Linked DNA regions of Homo sapiens: all the other regions are linked to region 1. Evidence: promoter capture Hi-C in 16 types of primary human blood cells and fetal thymus (Javierre and others, 2016). All regions are on one chromosome and are shown on one strand. Each heading gives the region's core, a stretch centred on a gene start or on the middle of the fragment in contact. The rest is flanking DNA. Distances are from core to core; before and after follow the strand shown. Region 1 holds the start of FKBP4 (FKBP prolyl isomerase 4). Region 2 has its middle 2.1 kb from the start of DCP1B. Region 3 has its middle 3.2 kb from the start of LINC00940.

Region 1 (2,700 bases), core at 101-2,600:
ATAACGGGAAGTCCAAAAATACAGTTATTATTGGAATAAAAATTCAGGCTGGGCGCAGTGGCTCACGCCTGTAATCCGAGAACTTTGGGAGGCCGAGGCGGGCGGATCATTTGAGACCAGATGTTCGAGACCAGCCTGGGCAACATGGCGAAACCCCGTCTCTACTAAAAATACAAAAATTAGTCGGCGTGGTGGCGGACGCCTGTAGTCCCGGCTACAGAGAGCCAAGATCGCACCACCGCACTGCAGCCTGGGCGACAGAGCAAGACCCTGTCTCAAAAAAAAAAAAAAAAGAAAAAAAAATCAGCCAAGACTTGGAAAAAGAAATTTAAAAAAGGAAAATTCATGCAGCCAGTAACTATTGGGACATCACTCACCAGGCACTATGCTAAACTGGGGTTAGGTGCTGAGCAAAACCAGGCCCCTCTCTAGATGGCTCTCTAGGTCCCACGACCATAGCTTAGGTGACACCGGCACCTGCGCGCTCCACAGCCTGTCGAAAAACACTCGGGAAGCAAACATTGAGAAGAAAATACTCCTTCTGTGGGCCTTTAGGAAAACCGAGTGACTTTTTTCGTGAGGGGAACCCATCTTTGTAAGCATTCGCGGAAACGGCAGTTTTATTACCGCCGGGAAGGGTCCCCTGAGTGTGTGCCCCATCTGAGTTCCGAGCTGGGCGGGCCATGCCTTGCCAACCCCGCTGCTCGCAGCATCTGCAGGCGCTGAGCGAGGCATCGCTGCCTGGCCGGGGCTTCTCGGATCTGGGGAAATCGAGGTCGCTTTCCCCGGCTCTCTGCAGCGGGGCAGCGCTGTCCACTCACTCCCCGCTCCCCGCGCACGCCCTTGCCCTCTTTCCCCCAAGTAGGGAAGGGTCTACGCGGGTCATAGCAGAGAGGCCACGCCGCCCGTGGTGACGGCCGGTCCCGGGGAGGGGGCGCCGCCACTGCCATCCCGCAGCCTGCGCTCCCCACACCCCGCCGCAGGCGCAGCGGACTGGTGGAGTGATGTCGGGAGATCGATCGAGAAGAATCTGGAAGAATCCGGTTAGACAGGGAAGCGGGCGGGGATGGGAGGGAGGGAGGAAGGGCCAAGGGAGGCCGCCGGGGAGATCCCGAGTCCGAGGGTCCCAGGAGAAGGGGGAGGGGGCAGGCAGCCAGAAGGAGGCAAGAACCAAAAAAAAAAAAAGAAAAAAAAATTCCGAAGCGCCCGCAGCACTGAGCCCGAACCGGCTCAGTCCCGCCGTCTCTAGAAAGTTCTGCACCCCGCCCCCTCTGTCTGCGCTCCCGCTCCTCCCAGCCCCTCCCTCGCGGCGGGGCGGGACCAATCGCTCCCCGAGCCGCTCCTGACCCACCTACCCCAGCTCTCGCGCCGCGTGCAGAGGTGCTCAAGCCTCCTCGCGGTCCGCAGTCAGTGCCGCCGCGCCCGGCCTCCCGCACGCCCCGCAGGTAGCGCCCCCGCCCGCGGCCCAGAGTGCGCTCGCGCCGGCACCAGCTCCCGGATAAACGGCGCGCCGCGCGGAGATGACAGCCGAGGAGATGAAGGCGACCGAGAGCGGGGCGCAGTCGGCGCCGCTGCCCATGGAGGGAGTGGACATCAGCCCCAAACAGGACGAAGGCGTGCTGAAGGTGAGGGGCGGCGGGGCCTGCGGAGGCGTCGGAACCCGGGGCCCCGCGGGCCGCCCTTCCGCCGCGCCCGGAGCCCGCGGCCGGGCACGGGTCGAGGCGGCCGCCTTTGCAGCCTCGCGGCCGTCCCGCCGGGGGCCGGTGGCATCGCCGTCCCGGACCGGGCTGCGTCGTTTAAGGCACCGAGGCCGGCCATGCGCTCGGCAGGGGGGCGGCCTAGGTGCGCGGGCCGAGGCCCCAGGCTCCCCAGCCGGCAGCGCCCGGGCCCGGGCAGGGGGTCGGGATTGCAGTGCCCACCCCGGCGCGCGCGGGGCGGCGGAGAGGGGCGGGGCGAGGCGACCGCCGCGGGCACCCGAGCCGCAGCCCGGGGCCAGGCCGGGCCTCCCACGCCACGCCGCCCCCGACCTCGCGGCCCCAGCGGAGCTGCCAGCCGCGGGCCGCCTCGTTGGTGGCGGTGCCAGGGCTCGCCCACCCGGGCGGTGGAACACGGGCCAGGACGGGGAGCGACTCCCCACAGTGCTTTCCTGGCCCTTCGGCCTTTGTGCGACGCAGGCGCGACAGGGTTCCGGCGCCCTCCCGGGGTCCCCTGCCGACGCCGGGACCCAGCGAGGTCCCCACTCGCCGCGCGGCGCCCCCTCCCTCGGCCCCGGGGAGGCCGGGCGCGGGGCATGCCGGGAGCTGTAGTCCCCTCCCCCCTCCGCCGCCTCCCGGAGCCAGGGCTGCGGGGTGTGGGGCGGGGAGGAGGCGCTCTGCTGTGGAGCCTGCCGCCGAGTGACCGCTCGACTACAAATAGCCTGGGGAGCTGCGGGGAGGGCATCTTGACCTGGGCCAGGACAACCTGCCTTGGGTCGGAGCAGGTTCCAGGGAGAATCAGAGATGGTGAATTCCCAGCCTGCGTCTTATGCCTTCTCCCCATCCGCTGCTGCGTCCTCATCCTGGCTTCCCACCGCTGAGCTCCGCGTGTGCGGCACCCACCTCAGGGGGCCTTTACCTGGTCCAGAAGTGCATCTGTCTTTGCACCAGATTATTGGGGACCTCAAGCGTCTGCTCCAGCGGCTCTCCTGTGGCATGTGACTTC
Region 2 (2,700 bases), core at 126-2,625, 790 kb before region 1:
AATTCTTTTTAACATTCTGCATGAAAAAATAGGAAATAGGCATAAAGCACGTCTGCTGCAAAATGAAGTGTGTCATATTTGTCTCTAGGAAAATACTTCTGTGCTTGAGTTGTAGGCCGAATTCATGTTTTTATTTTTATTTTCATAAAACATTTTTACTTGAAAGAAAGATGGGCAAACTATGATTATTCAAACAGGTACTTGACAGACATTTTTCTGAAAATAAATAAAGTGTGCCTGTCACTTTCAGGAAAACAAGGGACAATTACTGCTGCCAATGATAATTTTTAAGCCTTCAAGCCAGAATTAAAAGTTTAGAAAATGTGTATCTACTGCCATGAGCTTGACATCTCAGTACTTAATGTTTTTTTTTCTGATGAGATCAGTGATGATATTAATGAGCGCAATTTTAACAAATCTTGTATAATGGAAAGTGTCAATATCTCAAAGATCTGCTTAACTCAGTGGTCCAGTATTTTCCAAAAGACCAATGTCTCATGCTACATAATCATGCACAGGCAAAAGATCCATTCAAGGACAAGGTGGACTAATGGATTTTTAATGTAACAGTATGAAAAGTTAATAGGATTTCAGATAGTACATTGCAGCTAAGCTTTGAGAAACTCCAGCTTGTCAAGTTTTGGTATATTATCCAAGAAGAATATCCACAATTGTCTGAAAAACTCTATTAAAATATCCATCTCTTTTCCAACTACATTATCTACATATGAGGCCAGAGTTTCTTCATATACTCCAAACAAAACACACATAGCCCGGGGTCTTTAAAGTTATTTTTAATTTCCAATATGGTAAATATAGGTGGGTATAACTCACATAAACAAAAGTTCTCTGAGGGAGTCCTTAATAATTTTTAAGAGTGGGCCAGGTGCGGTGGCTCCTGCCTGTAATCCCAGCACTTTGGGAGGCTGAGGCGGGCGGATCACAAGGTCAGTAGTTCAAGACCAGCCTGGCCAACATGGTGAAACCCCGTCTCTACTAAAAATACAAAAATTAGCCAGGAGTGGTGGCAGGTACCTGTAATCCCGGATACTCGGGAGGCTGAGGCAGGAGAATCGCTTGAACCCGGGAGGCAGAGGTTGCAGTGAGCCGAGATCCTGCCACTGCACTCCAGCCTGGGTGATAGAGCGAGACTCCATCTCAAAAATAAAATAAATAAAAAGTAATTAAAAAAATAATTTTTAAGAGTGTAAAGGAGTCTTGAGACTAAAAAGTTGAGAATGGTTGATCTAAACCATTTATCTAGCATTAAATATTAGAACAACTGTGCAGACATTACTACTCACATTCATAAATTCTTACCTATTTGATATAGAAATATCATAGATACGGCACACATACCCTCTCATAATAATATGTTGCAATATAATCTTTGCAGTCACAATTTCAATTGTACTGAAATTCTTGGTTAAGCTGCATTTTGGAGTCTCAGTCCTATTGACTCCCAAGCCTAACTTCCCAGTGGGGAAGAATACAGCAATGGCTTTCAAACAACTTTTTTTTGACTGAGGCTGGGGTCATTTGCAGTCTGACTGAGAACATATGTTTATATATTTATACCTGATATTAACTAGAATAAATGTTTCAATACTAAGTATACAGACATTTTTTAAAATGCTATTTGTGACTTTGTAAATTGGTTTCATGACCAACTAATGGATTGTGACCTGTAGTTTGAAAAACATAGGGCTGCAGCAACTGAGCAACCACACAAAGCTGACTAGACAACTTTCCATGTTAGTTCACTACCTTTTTCCAGTGTTACTGACCTCTTTGCTCTTAATCACATATGTGCTTCTAAAAACAAGTTTAATCTGTAATATGGGCAATGGAGAATTTTGTGATTAATTCTTGAACTAGTCACACTCTCTCACTTGATTAGCTGTTCTAATTTTGATTTTTCAGCATGAACCCACAGATTCTACTTTGCATTTCCCTCGTACATATAATGAGGCATTGTTTTTCTTTTGTCTGTTAAGTTCCATGATCCTTACACAGATCATTGTCCTCATAATTTTTCAGTCTTTCCATCTTTAAAGTGTAAAGAATAGATCATGGCCTCCAAAGAACGAATTGCTTTGAGCTCATTAGAGAAGACAGGCAATATAGGGGCCATTGTAAAAGCTTAAATGTTCATAAAACAAAAGTGTATACAAGTCTTAGTGATCTGTATGACTACAATTGCAAAGCATTTATGGAGTGCTCACTTGATGAAATTCATTAATTCTTCATGATTTATTATTGCTTCTTGTGTCTGTGCTGAAATTACATGGTCATGTCTTCTCCAGTCTTTGATCTCACTGATGAGTAAGATGAAGATACCCTTACTTTGCTTACGGGGAAAATTTCACATATGTGAACAACATGCTAATATGACCCTTAGTAGAGAAGAGTTAATTTTTTGTGTGTTTAGAGTTAATGAAACAACCCATCTTCTGTTCTAACCTCCTTGTATCTGAACTCTTTTCTCCCAAGTATCTTACACATTCCTATCTCTGTACCTTTGCCCATCTGTCTTCTTAGCTTGGAATGACCTTTTCCTGGAAAACTCACCTCCTGTCTTCTCCCATACAATCCTTTCAGCCTATGAATCCTCATTGCATTCTGTTGCGATTTTTCTTGTGGCACTTAGCTCACTTTATCCTGACTTAGACTTATTTATTTACTACGTTACATATACAT
Region 3 (2,700 bases), core at 111-2,610, 860 kb before region 1:
GAAGAAGAAAAGCCCATTTATTTATGAAATCTAGCTTTGGGTGCCTTAGATAACCCTTTTGATCTATTTCTTGGACTCACTAGAGAAAGTCCTTTTGTACAAAGACACTCTCATCTGCTTTGCTGTATAGAAGAAATAAGCACTCCATCACCAACTGCCCTTTGAAGGGTGACTTCGTCTTTGGTCTAAATGAATTGGGCCTGTCCCTTTCAAAATGATGTATTCCAGTAAAGGATGGAGAATTTATTATTTTTCAAAACAGATGACTGTGGTGTTGACCTAGAAAGGCCCGACTGAAGCCTGCAGGGCAGGTCTGACCATGCTGGGCTTGGGTTTGTTCCCCCGTCGCATCAGAACATGGGCACCTTCTCACATTAGGTACGGCAACTGATATTCTTTCTGTTTTATTTACTCGGTTCTGAAGCAAAAGAATAAATATTTCATGAAATTAGCCATTTGCTACTGCAAATACGTTAGGAACATTAAGTATGGAATTCATCTCTCCTTAGCTAGCGAAGCAACTCTAAACATGTAATTAAGATCAAAGATACATTGTTAAGGTTGCCAGCAGTTAATCAGATCATTGATTTTGCCCCATTTTTGTGCATGTATCGCTGAGGCAAGCACTACGATCACTGACTTTGAATCCAGCAGTTAATCAGATCATTGATTTTGTCCCATTTTTGTGCATGTATCGCTGAGGCAAGCACTATGATCACTGACTTTGAATAACAGATCCAAGTGTGTCTCTGTCCTCGCCCTGTTCTCCTTATAAGAATATTGAGATACCATATATGCAATTATTAATTTCAAGTGTTTTGTGAAAACTTTGCATGGTTTATCACTATGTTAGATGTTGTAGGAGATACCAACGAAACAAAAGAACTCACCCCTTCCTAAATGTTGGAGGGTAACACAGCAGACTCCTCGCCAAGGTCTGGCACATAACAGGGGTTCAGTAACAGTCAATCCCTTTTCCACCCACCCTTTCTCTTCACAAGAAAAAGCACCCTCCTGCGGGAGAGTAGGGGAGGTGGTGTTCTAACAATGCTTTCACTCGATGCTGTGGCTGAACAAAGGTCTAGAGCTTAAAGTCCAAGCCCAGGTCTCAGAAACGGTAGGGAAACCTGTTTTCCTCACGCTTCCATTTTATGAACTATAAAATGAGAATAAAACACCTGTCGGCTGTGCAGTAATCGAAGATCTTTTTATTATCCGAGAATAAGAAGTGCTATTGAAACGCAAAGCTTTATTTATTACAAATACTCAGCAGGGACGAATTCCCATAGATACTCTTAACAACTTGGCAGGGGCTCTTCTGACTCCTTCCAAGATTAAGCTCCTCATCTCTGCGAACATAAAACTCGATCTGCTACACAGCTTGCAGATCATGACGCCCTGAACATCACAGTGACAATCTCCTGTGCCCTCCGCCTCAGCGTGTTCTGCTAAGGGTGATATACTATCCATTCGGAAGCTTAGGCGGGCACATCCTGCTGCTTCATGGGCTGGGATGGATGAAGTGTTGCTGGAAATCTGGGCCATTTGTCAACTCCTAGAACATCTATCCTCTAGAAACTAGCTATAAATACCTTTAGAAATAACTTCCTTCAAAGGATTGGGTAAAACATGCCAACTGGGTTTTTACAAATGAAAGGTTTACTTTGTCTGGTAAAAGAAAACCGTCGTTACTTCCAAAGGCTCATTAAAGCCTTTGTAGGTTAACTTGTGGGACGACACTGCCACCTGGTGGTCGGCGTGCACTGTGCGCACGGAGCTCCCCAATGGAAGTTACACACTGCTCAAAGAACCACCAGACTTATTAATAAAGAACTAAGCTCTGAGAACAGCCCTTCTCACAGAGACACTGATTCTTCTGAAGTGGCTCCATACATTTAAGGAAACATACTAAGCTTGGCATTTACTGAGTGACCTAAGCAAAGAATTTTCCTACCCGCTCAATTCTTAGTACCAGGTGTACTGAAGGACGTGATTTCTAAAAGCAAAACAAAACAAAAACACTTGAAAGGCAGGCCTGGTGGTGACAAAATCTCTCAGCATTTGCTTGTGTGTAAAGGATTTTATTTCTCCTTCGCTTATGAAGCTTAGTTTGGCTGGATATGAAATTCTGGGTTGAAAATTCTATTCTTTTTTTTTTTTTGAAACGGAGTCTCGCTCTGTCGCCCGAGTAGCTGGGACTACAGGCGCCCTCCATCATGCCCGGCTAATTTTTTGTATTTTTAGTAGAGACAGGGTTTCACCGTGTTAGCCAGGATGGTCTCGATCTCCTGACCTCGTGATCCACCTGTCTCAGCCTCCCAAAGTGCTGGGCTTACAGGTGTGAGCCACCGCGCCTGGCCCCTGAAAATTCTATTCTTTAAGAATGTTGAATGTTGGCCCCCACTCTCTTCTGGCTTGTAGGGTTTCTGCAGAGATATCCACTGTTAGTCTGATGGGCTTCCCTTTGTGGGTAACTTGACCTTTCTGGCCTCCCTTAACATTTTTTCCTTCATTTCAACCTTGGTGAATCTGAAAATTATGTGTCTTGGGGTTGCTCTTCTCGAGGAGTATCTTTGTGGTGTTCTCTGTATTTCCTGAATTTGAATGTTGGCCTGCCTTGCCAGGTTGGGGAAGTTCTCCTGGATAATATCCTGAAGAGTGTTTTCCAACTTGGTTCCATTCTCCCCATCACTTACAGGT

Evidence for each region. Contacts are between HindIII fragments. The CHiCAGO score rates a contact against its expected background, and 5 or more counts as called.
Region 2: a contact is called between a fragment that was not itself captured here and the fragment with the promoter of FKBP4 in region 1, in 2 of 17 cell types (naive CD4 T cells and activated CD4 T cells). The highest score is 5.6, in naive CD4 T cells.
Region 3: a contact is called between a fragment that was not itself captured here and the fragment with the promoter of FKBP4 in region 1, in 1 of 17 cell types (naive B cells). The highest score is 6.0, in naive B cells.

Annotation. Positions count from the first base shown.
Region 1 is chr12:2,793,620-2,796,319 of GRCh38, forward strand. It overlaps FKBP4 (FKBP prolyl isomerase 4), which reads left to right and starts at 1,351. Exons shown (of 10, transcript NM_002014.4): 1 at 1,351-1,625. The coding sequence starts at 1,521. The region is part of intron 2 of ITFG2-AS1 (ITFG2 antisense RNA 1); the gene reads right to left. RefSeq lists enhancers at 230-775, 776-1,320 and silencers at 1,170-1,549, 1,580-1,639, 1,990-2,399. The HindIII fragment of the contact is 2,886 bases long and covers 1-2,700 here.
Region 2 is chr12:2,005,248-2,007,947 of GRCh38, forward strand. It overlaps a transcript of CACNA1C not described here. Among named protein-coding and RNA genes, the nearest start is that of DCP1B, 2.1 kb to the left of the region's middle. The HindIII fragment of the contact is 1,529 bases long and covers 612-2,140 here.
Region 3 is chr12:1,938,442-1,941,141 of GRCh38, forward strand. No RefSeq gene overlaps it. Among named protein-coding and RNA genes, the nearest start is that of LINC00940, 3.2 kb to the left of the region's middle. The HindIII fragment of the contact is 230 bases long and covers 1,246-1,475 here.